Regions from separate parts of the Homo sapiens genome. Here region 1 is linked to region 2. Evidence: promoter capture Hi-C in 16 types of primary human blood cells and fetal thymus (Javierre and others, 2016). All regions are on one chromosome and are shown on one strand. The core of a region is centred on a gene start or on the middle of the fragment in contact, and the rest is flanking DNA. Distances in the headings are between cores, read along the strand shown. Region 1 overlaps YTHDF3-DT (YTHDF3 divergent transcript). Region 2 holds the start of TMEM68 (transmembrane protein 68).

Region 1 (6,967 bases), core at 559-3,058, 7.4 Mb before region 2:
TGCTGAAGTCACGGCGGCCGGCGGCGCCCTCCTGGAGGCTGACGGGACGGAGGCAGGGAACTTCCCGGTGAGCCAGCCGGGCCTAGCAGGAGCCTTCGGCGGCTGCCCAAAGCCGTGGGGACGGCTGGCTGACTCAGCCGCTCTCTGGACGGAGTTGCTGGGTCCCCACAAGCCTGCCCGTGCAGCTGAAGTGGCAGGTTAGAGTTGTGGTACTCAAACTTAAGTCCAAGCAAACAGGAGGAGCACCGGCGCGGGTTCAGTCTTTCCAAACCCAGTTCAGCCGTAATCTCTGGAGTCAGACTTCGCCGCCCAATTCATGGATTTGTGCTTTTGACTCCGCTCTGATGTTTTTGAATGAATAAAGTTGCCTAGGATACTTAAGTATAGTTGCAGAGCGTCTTTTCGGCCCTGAAAAGAGGGAAAGTTTCCATTGAAAAAGTTCTTTATCACATATTGGCAAACCCAAAGTATGCCAATTTGCAACGTGTTGACATTTTCATTGAAATATCTACAATAAAGGCAAAGATTCCTTGTCTCAGTGATACAGAGTCCATGGAAGGAAATAATTTAAATGACCAAATACTTTCTGTACTTCAAAAACCATCAAATAAGTGATCATTTAGAAAGTAAAATTGTAGAATCATAAGATTAATTTTGTGGTTTACAGTGCAACAGTATCTTAGAAGCACTGAATAATAGAAAAACTTGAGAGGCCACTTTTCATGTAAATCACCAAGAGGCATTTTTAAGTTCTGGTTAGACAGTTTCCCTTGCCCTTCCATTCATTGCCACGGGTCCCAACCTAAGCACCCTTGCATTTCCCAAGACTCCCCCAACCCTTTCTGCTGTTGCTCTCAATGTCTCCCATCCTTCACTCCCAAACAGACCGTTTTAGTTTTAATGAGTTTGCTGGTACATGCTATGAGCCAGGAACTTGAGAGAGAATATACAAGAGGAGGCTTAAATCTTGCAAGCCTTGTCTTTGATCCTTAGTATCATGGCTTTGGAACCCAATCAATTCGAATTTAAATTCTAGTGGAGCAAGAATTAGTGTTATAATCTTGGTAAAGGCACTGAAACTTTCTAAGCTTTAGCTTCCTCATGAGTAAAATTAGGTCCTTCGTGTACAGTTCCTGACACAAAAGTAAGCTTTCAGCAAATTGTGGCTATATACAGGTAATGAATTGTTCCTTCGCTAAAAGATTCCCGGAAATAGTAATCGCTTACATTTATTGAGAACACATTATATGTCATGTTAATTCCCACAGCATCCTTGCAGAAGTGCCATTATAAAAACTGACACAGTGAGGTTAGGAAACACGCCACAAACAACACAGCTAGTCACTATGAGAGCCAGGATTTGAACTCAAGCAGTGTGACTCCCAAGTTCCCACTCTAATAACTACCATATAATACTGCCTAATGACATAATATTATGAGCTTCTATTCTCTTTCATTTTTGCTCAACAAACTTCTTTCTTTATGGCTTTTCTTCCTAGCAATAATACCTACCCTCAGATATAAACCTACTTAATTTAATATTAACAGACTTTTGAAGTACATCTGGGGACTACCTGAAACCATCTCCAATGCCTCCAGGAGTGTATTAGTCCGTTTTCATGCTGCTGATAAAGACATACCCGAGACTGAGAAGAGAAAGAGGGGTTAAATTGTGTTTAAAGTTCCACATGGCTGGGGAGGCCTCAGAATCACGGCAGGAGGCAAAAGCCACTTCTTACATGGAGGGCAGCAGGAGAAAATGAGGAAGAAGCAAAAGTGGGAAACCCCGATAAACCTATCAGATCTCATGAGACTTAATTCACTATAATGAGATTAGCATGGGAAATACCGGTCCCCATGATTCAATTACCTCCCCCTGGGTCCCTCCCACAACACGTGGGAATTCTGGGAGATAAATTCAAGTTGAGATTTGGGTGAGGACATAGCCAAACTATATCATTCTGCCCTGGCCCCTCCAAATCTCATTTCTTACATTTCAAAACCAATCATGCCTTCCCAACAGTACCCCAAAGTCTTAACTCATTTCAGCATTAACCCAAAAGTCTACAGTCCAAAGTCTCATCTGAGACAAGGCAAGTCCCTTTCGCCTATGAGCCTGTAAAATAAAAAGCAAGCCAGCTACTTCGTAGATACAAAGGGGGTACAGATATTGGGTAAATACAGCCATTCCAAATGGGAGAAATTGGCCAAAACAAAGGGGTTACAGGGCCCATGCAAAGGGCACTCAAATTTTAAAGCTCCAAAATGATCCCCTTTGACTCCAGGTCTCACATCCATGTCATGATGATGCAAGAGATGGGTTCCCATGGTCTTGGGCAAGGAGAATGGAGAGGATATTTTGAAAAATGTTGCCACAGAGCCTAGTTTCTAGGTAAAAATGCACTCTTCTAAAGAGCCACTAGGGTGTGTCAGTCTCCTGGAGCACACAGCACAGTGCAAAGCTTGGAAAGGAGAGGGCAGGCTGGATTTAAGGCCCCATTTTTCCCTCAGCCAACTTTGGTGTTTGTGTGTGCGTGTGTTGTTGTTATTTGTTGTTTTGTTGTTTAATTATAGCAACATGTTCTTGCTATGTTGCCCAGGCTGGTCTCCAACTCCTGGGCTCAAGGGATCCTCCCACCTTGGCCTCCCAAAGTGCTGAAATTACAGACAGTGAAGTTCCAGTCTGCACAACTGTAACTTCTGTATGATTACTTGTATCAGTTCAAATTAGGTTCAGCTACAAGTGGTATCAAGTTCAAAATAACAGGAGCCGAAGATAGAAATCTGTTTTTCTCATACAACAGCAGTCTGGATATACTCCAGGACTTGGGTTGCCATTGTATCAGATAATCCAGGCTTCTTCTAGTCTGTTGTTCCACCATCCTGTTATAAATAAAGTTTTGTTGCCACAAAAGAAGTAGCACTCGAATATAGAATTTACTTTTTAATTCTCAGCAAGGCAAGTTACTTCTACAGAAGGGTGCACCCTTACAGATGGAACAACGGTGAGCACAGACTTAGACAAGGGAAGGGAAGGGGTTCTATCCCTGACGCATGTGGCCCCTTCTGCTGTGTTGTTCCCCTATTGGCTAGGGTTAGACCGCACAGGCTAAACTAATTCTGACTGGCTAACTTAAAGAGACTGACAGGGTGAGTGGTTTGGCGGGAAAAATGGTTATGACAGAGCAGGTAATTGGAATGAGTCAGGGTGGAGTAGGTAATCAGAATGAGTCAGGATGGAGCAGGTAATCGAAAAAGGTTGCTTTATGAGGAAGTTAAGTTTAAAAGTAAAAGGCAAAGAATTGAACATACTGACATATTGATTCTTTGAAAAGAAATTTAGAACTCATATCTAACAATCCTCATTATGATACCTCTACCTGTGGCCCATGATGGCTGCTCAACTTCCAGCCATCCTAATCACATTCCCACCAGCAGAAAAACAAGGTTAAGAAAGCACATTGTTCTCCTTTAAGGACATTTTGTAGAAATTGCATTTTTCCCATTTGTATTAGTCTGTTTTTGCATCGCTACAGAGGAATACCCGAGACTGGGAAATTTATAAAGAAAAGAGGTTTCATTGACTTACTGTTCTGCAGGCTATTCAGGAAGCATGGTCCAGCATCTGCTTGGCTTCTGATGAGGCCTCAGAAAGCTTGCAATCATGGCAGAAGGCAAAGGGGGAGCTAGCTTACACATGACGAGAATGGATGCAAGAGTGAGATGGGGGAGGTGACACACACTTTTAAACAACCAGATCTTCTGTGAACTCAGAGAAAGAACTCAATCATCACCAAGGGGATGGTGCTAAACCATTCATGAAGGATCTGCCCCAGTGATCCAAATGCCTCTCCACCCTCAACATTGGGGATTACTTTTTTTTTTTTTTTTTTTGAGATGGAGTCTTGCTCTGTCGCCCAGGCTGGAGTGCAGTGGCACGATCTCGGCTCACTGTAAGCTCCGCCTCCCAGGTTCACACCATTCTCCTGCCTCAGCCTCCCAAGTAGCTGGGACTACAGGATCCTGCCACCACGCCCAGCTAATTTTTCATATTTTTAGTAGAGACGGGGTTTCACCGTGTTAGCCAGGATGGTCTCGATCTCCTGACCTTGTGATCCGCCCGCCTCGGCCTCCCAAAGTGCTGGGATTACAGGCTTGAGCCACCGCACCCGGCTGGGGATTACATTTAATTGTGAAATTTGGAGGGGACAAACATCCAAACTATATTAACATTTCTGGCTACTTTCTACTAACTAAAACATAGTTTCCTACAAGTATTTAAAGTTAAGTGAAAGCTGGAAAATATATTCTGAGTGGCCATGTGTTCAGTTAAAAATGAGGATGTTTATTACTAAGGAAGAGGGGGAGAATGGGTGGGGGGATACTTAGTAATAAACTCTGTGCCTAGTAATTTCCTGGATTTGCTTTGTTAACTAGCAGCACTTAAACTTATCTTTGAATTTTACCAGTGTTTAAGCCAAAATTTATAAGGCTTTCTGTTATCTTTAAGTAACATATATAGTACATGAACGAAGTGTAGAGAATTCAGCTTGAGGATTGATCGATGCACTTTTAAAAGGAGGTATTCTTAAATATCATGCATAAGGTAAAACCACTAATAGCTAAGAAGGACACTGAATAAAGTAAAAAATCAGTCAATCAATCTGCTTTGAAACAGAAAAGCCAAAACTTTTCCATTTATTCTTAAGTTTACTGCAGAGAAATTTACAATGGTAAGAAAAAGGCAGCAGAAAACATCAAATAACCTTAAGATTTGCTTAAAGCAATTTCTTCAAACTGTTTCCTTGGGACTAGCAGCAACATCTCCTAGGAACTTATTCAAATGCAGATTCTCAGGACTCAGCCCTTATTTACAGAATCAGAAGCTCTAGGGTTGGACCAAAAGTCCATGTATTAAAAAAAAAAAAAAAAAAAAGCCGACAGTGGTGGTGGTGTGTCTGGAATTGGTGGGTTCTTGGTCTCACTGTCTTCAAAAATGAAGCCGCGGACCCTCGCAGCGAGTGTTACAGCTCTTAAGGTGGCGCGTCTGGAGTCTGTCCCTTCTGATGTTCAGATGTGTTCGGAGTTTCTTCCTTCTGGTGGGTTCGTGGTCTCACTGGCTCAGGAGCGAAGCGGCAGACCTTCGCGATGAGTGTTACAGCTCTTAAGGCAGCGCGTCTGGAGTTATTCGTTCCTCCCAGTGGGCTCGTGGTCTCACTGGGCTCAGGAGTGAAGCTGCAGATCTTCGCGGTGAGTGTTACAGCTCATAAAAGCAGTGTGGACCCAAACAGTGAGCAGTAGCAAGATTTATTGCAAAGAGCAAAAGAACAAAGCTTCCACAGCGTGGAAGGGGACTCGAGCGGGTTGCCAATGCTGGCTCGGGCAGCCTGCTTTTATTCTCTTATCTGGCCCCACCCACATCCTGCTGATTGGTAGAACCGAGTGGCCTGTTTTGTCAGGGCGCTGATTGGTGTGTTTACAATCCCTGAGCTAGATACAAAGGTTCTCCACGTCCCCATCAGATTAGTTAGATACAGAGTTTCAACACACAGGTTCTCCAAGGCCCCACCAGAGCAGCTAGATACAGAGTGTCCATTGGTGCACTCACAAAGCTTGAGCTAAACACAGGGTGCTGATTGGTGTATTTACAATCCCTGAGCTAGACATAAAGACTCTCCAAGGCCCCACCAGAGAAGCTAGATACAGTGTTGATTGGTGCACTCACAAACCCTGAGCTAGACACAGGGTGCTGATTGGTGTATTTACAATCCCTGAGCTAGACATAAAGATTCTCCAAGGCCCCACCAGACTCAGGAGCCCAGCTGGCTTCACCTAGTGGATCCCGCACCAGGGCTGCAGGTGGAGCTGCCTGCCAGTCCCGCGTCGTGCGCTTGCATTCCTCAGCCCTTGGGTGGTCGATGGGACTGGGCGCCGTGGAGTAGGGGGTGGTGCTCGTTGGGGAGGCTCGGGCCGCACGGGAGTCCATGGAGTGGGTGGGAGGCTCAGACATGGCGGGCTGCAGGTCCTGAGCCCTGCCCCGCGGGAAGGCAGCTAAGGCCTGGCGAAAAATCGAGCACAGCGCCGGTGGGCTGGCACTGCTGGGGGACTCAGTACACCCTCCGCAGCCACTGGCCTGGCTGCTAAGTCCCCCATTGCCCGGGGCCAGCAGGGCTGGCTGGCTGCTCCAAGTGCGGGGCCTACCAAGCCCACGCCCACCCGGAACTCCAGCTGGCCTGCAAGCGTGGCACGCAGCCCCGGTTCCCGCTCGTGCCTCTCCCTCCACACCTCCCTGCAAGCTGAGGGAGTGGGCTCCAGCCTTGGCCAGCCCAGCAAGGGGCTCCCACAGTGCAGTGGGGGGGCTGAAGGGCTCCTCAAATGCCACCAAAGTGGGAGCCCAGGCAGGGGAGGTGCCGAGAGCAAGCGAGGGCTTTGAGGACTGCCAGCATGCTGTCACCTCTCAGTGGCTCACGCCTATAATCCCAGCACTTTTGGGAGGCTGAAGCAGGTGGATCGCCTGGGGTCAGGAGTTCAAGACCAGCCTGACCAACATGGTGAAACCCCATCTCTACTAAAAATACAAAAATTAGCCAGGCATGGTGGTGGGTGCCTGTAAGCCCAGCTACTTGGGAGGCTGAGGCATGAGAATCACTTGATCCCACGAAGTGGAAGTTGCAGTGAGCCAAGATTGTGTCACTGCACTCCAGCCTGGGCGACAGAGTAAAACTGCATCTCAAAAAAAAAAAAAAAAAAAAAGGCATCTTTGGCTGGGCGTGGTGGCTCACGCCTGTAATCCCAGCACTTTGGGAGGTCGAGGTGGGAGGATCACCTGAGGTCAGGAGTTCAAGACCAGCCTGACCAACATGGAGAAACCCCGTCTCTACTGAAAATATAAAATTAGCCTGGCATGATGGTGCATGCCTGTAATCCCAGCTACTCGGGAGGCTGAAGCAGGAGAATTGCTTGAACC
Region 2 (7,121 bases), core at 283-2,782:
AGTTCAGCCTGCAGAGAACGCTTTCTCCCACTGAAACTCACCCCAATTTATCCCCCTTAGACCTCTTTCCAAAAGCTACTTCCTCAAAGAAACCTCTGTGACCCTTGGAAAGTTATTTGTTTTCACAGCATCCTGCACTTCTCTCTCATAGCACTTATAACTATAATCAACCAAGTAATAATGTAACCAGTTATCTTAATATTGATCTTCTCTGCTAGGAAGTAAACTCAATACATGTAAGGACAGAATGTCTTGTACCTCAGTGCCTACCAGCATACTTGATATACAAGAGCACAAAAAACATTTTCTGAATGATTGTATGACTACATGCATGCCTGACTAAAAAGGCGACAATACTTTTTACATTAAATTTAACAAGTTTAACTTCTTTTTGCGTTTTCAAATTACTCCACAAAATTACACGAGAAAAATGAATTCCTTCAAACTTAAATCCTACTATATTAAACTATATTAAAAGTCTATCACATAAAATTCACTTCCACAAGGATTTAACTCTAACAAAATAAGCATGTGAGATTAAATATACCCGTTATAGAGATGAAAAAAAGGTTCAAGTGGTTTAACTCACGCATTTAATATAAAGGAAACAATTCCTAGAATTCAAGTCTCTTGGCGGTATTATTCCTGCATACTAGCTATTTTTCATGTGGGGCAATTTTTACCTGATTCAAAGATTTCCCCAAAATAAAGATATCACAAAAACTGATGTAAATATGGTTAAGTCTTTTATCTCAACTAGTTTGAAGTTTTAATTATGTGCATTTGGGCTTAAGTAGATTTTTAGGTTTAAAAAAAGACGTTAACCAAAGCAAGTCACTCAACTTTAAACTTTCACTTTATGACATCATATCTACTAGAGATTTCATTTTACATGTCGCTTTCCCCCAATTTTTAAATGTCCCCTCGATTTACAAATATGAGATGACATATAGCACCTACGACATTTTTTCATAGCAGCCTACCAAGTAGATGTAGTCCTTCACATAAAAATAATGGCAGTGGGCGACCACTCCGTCATGTCTGAGGGTTTTGTTTTTCTTAAACATCACCGTGCCCAAGGGTCAGATGTTCTGGCTGCTTTCAGGGATCAATTACAACCACGTTTGCAATACCTACATTTCTGGGTAATGACTGTGCTAGAACATGAAGAGATTCTCTTTTCTACTTACTCCACAAATGCCCTGGAGCAAAGGCACAGTATCTTACAATCCTCCCGCTCCTCAATGAAGAGAAACATTTCCGCCACGCGGCTCCACTTCTCGCAGCACATTTTACCACTTCGGAGGCAGCTCTGACGTACGCAGCCCGGGTCGCGCCTGCCGGGCCTCCGCTCGGTTACTGGAGACTTAAAACAGGCCTCGCCCGCAAGCCCTGGATGAGGAGATAGAAACTGGCCCGCGGCCGCTCGCGCCGGGAACTAGCCCGGACGCTGCCGCCGGAAGTGGCTCCGAGGGGCCACGGGAAGGGGCGGGACCACGGGCGGTGTCACCCCCATCGCGGCCCGGGCTGCAGCCGCCGCTTGGCTTCTTTCACACGGGTTGCTTCGGAGGAATCCGCCGTGCAAATCTGTCCGCCCCCTTGGCCACTGATCCCCCGAAGAGCTTCTGTCGCCGCTCTAGGGTAAAGGAGAGCTGCCCCTGCCCCTGCCCCCGCCTATCCGAGGTGCGTCGGCCCCCGCGCTTCTCCAGCCCGGCATCGGGTCTGGCGGGACTGGGAGCGGCGGAGGCCGCGCGCGTCCGGTCTCCCAGGAGCCGCCTCGGAATCCCCAGTCTCTTCGCGGGCAGGCTCGGCTTCCCGCCGGCCTCAGTGTTGCGCCCCAGCGCCAGAGTGGCCGGGTGTGGAGATCCTCCCTCCTCTGGGTCAAAGAGCCTGCTCTCCCCGCCCCTCTTCTCCCCTGGCGCTCTAAACCTTCGGTTCGGCGCGTTTCATCCTAATGCATCTGGTGGGGCGAGGCGTCTCTAGCCTCTGTAGAGGCCTCTAGGCTTGCCCAGTGGCTTCGCTGGTTCCGGGACCCAGGTCGAGCCTCCGGTGTAAAAGCCAAGGGGAAGTGTGTGGTGATCCCGAGAGTGTAGGGGGAAAGCCGCGTGGGTAGAGCGTTCGTATCCAGACCGATCAGGCTTGGAATCCTGGTCCTACCTTGTGACCTGGGCAGGCAACTTCACCTTTCTGAGCTTACCTTTGATCACCTGTGAAATGGGGTTGATTAATAGTAACTACTACATGAGGCTGCAGGGAGGACTAAACGAAATGATGTATATTACACCTTTCCTTTGTGCGCTTAATCGTTGGCGTCGGTTTGGACCTTGTAGGCGTTAAGTGCTGTCTCGGTCCCTGGGGTTTGCAGCCTGTAAAACAGGTCTCTGCCTTCAAGTTACTAATTATCTAATAAGAAAAAAGTTCATGTGGGCATAAATAGGATGGAGAAAATGGAAACAGCAGCGTTGCTGGATCTGTTAAAAAGCAGTTAGTATTTGGTGTGTGGTATTCATGGAGGCTGCACGGGCAACTTCTTCAGAGACAAGCTCAGACTTGAAAGTTGGAGCGCTTCGGACGTGGTTGGTGCTACGAAATGCCAAAATAGTATTGGTACTTCTTCAGAACTATATAAAAACTGAGCTAAAATTCATGCATTTTGAATGGTATTTTCAATAGTATTTTGGCCACATTTACTAGTTAGTGGAAATATTCATTTTCAAATGTTTATTCCCACCTCCTTACTGCTGCCCTACTTTGAGGTCGGAGATAGGCTGATTTTGTTGGTTCAAGAAGGTAAGAGTGCTGCACGGTTACAGATATACCAGTATAGATGTGCAGCATTATTGGGATGAGTAGCTGGGTTACGATAATAAGGGTAGAACAGTAATTATGAAACAGAGTGGAAGATTTTAGCTAGAAGTTGGGCATTCTAGGATTAAAGAAAAGTCTTGAAGGGTAATTTGTATCAGAACCTCGAGTTTAAAGCTTGAAATAAAAAAAGTATTAAAGCTAAAAGGATTAGATTTACCAGCTATCTTGACAAATACTAAATTGCAGCTTTATTCATGGTTTGAAGTAGAAGTCCTATTCAGTAAAACAGTGCTGTATCTCTGTTAAACCATTATTAAATATGCAGAAAGGAAACAGGAAAACTTGTTTTTCAGTGACTATATCTTTTAATTGGCATTTTCAGAATGTTCTCAATGTGACTTATATACTAAAAGTAAAATGGAAAAGTACTGGTAATGGGTGTTCAAAATAGATATACTTTATTTATTTATTTATTTATTTTTTTTGAGACAGGATCTTGCTCTGTCACCCAGGCTGTAGTGTAGTGGCGCGATCGCGGCTCACAGCAACCTCTACCTCCCAGGCTCAAGCAATCCTCCTACCTCAGCCCCCCGAGTAGCTGGGGCTACAGGCATGCCACCATGCCTGCCTAATTTTGTGTGTGTGTGTGTGTGTGTGTGTTTTGTAGAGACAAGGTTTTGCCATATTGCCCAGACTGGTCTTGAATTCTTGGGTTCAAGTGATTTGCCTGCCTCAGCCTCCCAAAGTGTTAGGATTATAGGCATGAGCCACTGAGCCCAGCCTAAAATAGATACACTTTCTTAAGGTTTTATTGAAAGCCAAAAAGTTCTCTGTTCTGATTTATTAGTTTTTGAAATACTCTGATTTTAAACATCTGTAAGGTCCATATCCTCACCATCAATGTCAATATGGTGATATTTGAGCTTGTCAACTTTTTTTTTTTTTTGGAGACGGAGATTCATTTTTGTTGCCTAGGCTGGAGTGCAATGGTGCGATCTTGGCTCACCGCAACTTCCGCCTCCTGGGTTCAAGCGATTTTCTGCCTCAGCCTCCTGAGTAGCTGGGTTTACAGGCATGCGCCACCACACCTGGATAATTTTGTATTTTTTGTAGAAACAGGGTTTCTCCACATTGGTCAGGCTGGTCTCGAACTCCCGACCTCAGGTGATCCTCCTGCCGCTGCTTCGCAAAGTGCTGGGATTACAGGCATGAGCCACCGCGCGTGGCCTTGTCTACTTGTTTTTACAAAAGTTACGTGATTTCCAGATAGGGAAATTAAGATACTTTATATGTGATGCATTAGACTGTGTTTATTTTAGATTTTTAGGAGCAGGGGGCTGTAGAAAATAACCTGGAATTTTGAGAACTAAAATATTGTATTTCCCCCAAAACATCTTCTAGTACATAGAGTTCCCCCCTGCCCCCGAGACAGGGTCTTGCTCAGTTGCCCAGGCTGGAGTATAGTGGTGTGATCATTATAGCTTACTGCAGTCTTCACTCCACGGGCTCAAGCAGTCCTCCTGCCTTGGCCTTCCAAGTAGCTGCAACTTACAGGAACGTGCCACCATGCCTGGCGAACCTTTTTTTGGTAGAGACAAGGTCTCAGTATGTTGCCCCCAGGCTGGTCTCAAACTCCTGAACTCAAGCAGTCCTTCCACCTTGGCCTCGAAAACTGTTGGAATCACAGGCGTGAGCCACCCTGGCCCATGTCATTTTTCTTGGATTAAAATAAAGTGATAAGAAGTCAGTTACACCCCCAGGTAAATTCAGGGGGAAGGGGAAGGGCCAGGCAGAAGTATAGGGAAGACAGAAATTGCAATCTTAATATTTTCTTTCTGTCAAGAGAGAAAAAGAGAGATATATCAAAGAAAGTGTGTTGGAAGCCAGACCAGGAGGTAAGATGACTAGATTTTAATTTTAGTTCTTGGCTTTTACTGAATTAATTTAGTAATTTTAAGCAAGCAAACTTGGCTTTCTGTGTTTACTTTTTTTGTTATCTGCACAATTAAGGGGTTGCATTGAGATTTAAAGACACTTTGTCATATTATCAAAAGTAAGTGCTACATTTTATCTACTGAAAGGCATTTTATTCAAATTCCTCTGATAGTTCTCTAGTAGCAGGTTTTAGGATACTGTTTTGATCCAGATTTCTGTTAAAGATTTAGATGAGGCCAAGCAGGGTGGCTCACGCCTGCAATCCGAGCACTTTGGAAGGTGGAGGCGGGCGGATCACTTGAGGCCAGGAGTTCCAGACAAGCCTGGCCAACATGGCAAAACCCCATCTCTACTAAAAATACAAAAATTAGCTGGGTGCAGTGGTGCTTGCCTGTAGTCCCAGCTACACGGGAGGCTGAGGTATGAGAACTGCTTGAGCCTGGGAGGTGGAGGTTGCAGTGAGCTGAAATCGAGCCACTGCAGTCCAGCCTGGGTGACAGAGTGAGACTCTGTCTCAAAAAAAAAAAGTTTTAGACGAACACAGTTCAGTTGTATATTTAGCCAGCATTTGTTAGGTGCCTACTATGTGCCAGAAAGTAAGTGTTTTTCGTATGTTTTCTTAGATAACTATTTTATTTACTGATATATTTAGAATAGTATCTGGCACAAACTTCTCAGGGCCATCCACTTGTACATTGTATCCTGTCCCCTTTGGCCTAGTCAAGGACAGAGCTCTAACAATTATCTCCTCTCCTACATCATCTGTTTCTCACTCCCATTGATGAATTATCGTTGACATTGAACATGGGTGTATTTTCTCCTATCTTTTTTTTTTTTTTTTTTTGAGATGGGATTCTCATTCTGTCCCTGAGGCTGGAGTGCACTGTCAGAATCTCGGCTTATATAACCTCTGCCTCCCGGGTTCAAGCAATTCTAGTGCCTCAGCCTCCCAAGTAGCTGAGACTACAGGTATGCACCATGATGCCTGGCTAATTTTTGTGTTTTTAGTAGAGACGGCATTACCATGTTGGCCAGGCTGGTCTCAAACTCCTGACCTGAAGTGATCCACCCGCCTTGGCCTCCCAAAGTGCTGGGATTACAGGCATGAACCACTGTGCCTGGCCCTTTTTTTTTTTTTTTTTTTTTTTAAAGACAGAGTCTCTTGCTCTTTCACTGAGGCTGGAGTGCAGTGGCTTGATCATTACTCACTGCAGCTTCTACCTCCCAGGCTCAAGTGATCCTCCCCCTTCAGCCTCCCAAGTGGCTGGGATCATTGGTACATGTCACCATGCCCGGCTAATTTTTAATTTTTTTTTCTTTTTGAGCAGAGTCTCACTCTGTTGTCCAGGCTGGAGTGCAGTGGCATGATCTCGGCTCACTGCACTCTCCACCTCCTGGGTTCAAGCCATTCTTGTGCATCAGCCTCCCGAGTAGCTGAGATTACAGGAATGCATCACCACACCTGGCTAATTTTTGCATTTTTAGTAGAGATGGGGTTTCACTGTGTTGCCCAGGCTGGTCTTGAACTCCTGGCCTCAAGTGATCTGCCCCTACTTGGCCTCCCAAAGTGTTGGGATTACAGGTGTGAGCCACCGCACCTGGCCTAAATTTTTTTTTTAGAGATGAGTTTTTACTATATTGCCTGGCTGGTCTTGAACTTCTGGTTTCAAGCGATCCTCTTGCCTCAGTCTCCCAAAGTGCTGAGATTACAGGTGTGAGTTACCATGCCTGGCCTCTGTCTTAAAGCAACAGCTGCAGCAGCAGCAGCAAGGAACAACTCACCTGTGTTCCCTTCTAGATACCCACCTGTTTCTTTCCTCCTTTGTGAGTTTTTATATTTGCTGTTTCCAATTCATTTTCTCCCATTCATTCTTGAACTTCAAGGGTAAAGGGGAGCTGCTTCTGTCCTCTCCTGTCCAAAGTGTTTTGTTTCCTACTATACAAAAACAGCTCTTACCAGGGTTTGCCAGTTTCCTTTGTGTTGTAAAATCCAGTGATCAATTATCATTTTTTTTTTTTTTTTAAAGCTGTCTCCTACAGGAAGGAAGTGATCTCTTACCTTACTAGGCCTGTCAACAGCATTTAAAACAGCAGAATATGCCTTCCTTCTTGAAGCTCTTACTTCCAGGATACTGCTTCTGCAAGGAGGAGGCTGGCTTGCCATTGTCTTCCCAACTTCTAAAATGTTGGGTGCCTCAAGACTCAGTCCTGGAAATTCTTTTTTTTTTTTGAGACTGAGTTTCGCTGTTGTTGCCCAGGCTGGAGTGCAGTGGCATGATCTCGGCTCACTGCACCTCCGCCTCCCAGGTCCAAGCGATTCTCCTGCCTCAGCCTCCCAAGTAGTTGGGACTATAGGCGTGCGACACCACGCCCGGCTA

The links. The method cuts DNA at HindIII sites, captures the fragments that hold promoters and counts their contacts. A CHiCAGO score of 5 or more calls a contact.
Region 1: a contact is called between a fragment that was not itself captured here and the fragment with the promoter of TMEM68 in region 2, in 1 of 17 cell types (total CD4 T cells). The highest score is 6.7, in total CD4 T cells.

What each region holds. Positions count from the first base shown.
Region 1 is chr8:63,161,300-63,168,266 of GRCh38, reverse strand. It overlaps YTHDF3-DT (YTHDF3 divergent transcript), which reads left to right. Exons shown (of 1, transcript NR_102684.1): 1 at 1-542. Among named protein-coding and RNA genes, the nearest start is that of YTHDF3-DT, 3.7 kb to the left of the region's middle. RefSeq lists an enhancer at 1-103. The HindIII fragment of the contact is 1,313 bases long and covers 1,152-2,464 here.
Region 2 is chr8:55,767,789-55,774,909 of GRCh38, reverse strand. TMEM68 (transmembrane protein 68) reads left to right here and starts at 1,532. Exons shown (of 8, transcript NM_001286657.2): 1 at 1,532-1,641. TGS1 (trimethylguanosine synthase 1) reads right to left here and starts at 1,464. Exons shown (of 13, transcript NM_024831.8): 1 at 1,191-1,464. The coding sequence starts at 1,291. RefSeq lists enhancers at 1,026-1,355, 2,127-2,630 and silencers at 1,496-1,685, 1,776-1,905. The HindIII fragment of the contact is 10,724 bases long and covers 1-2,984 here.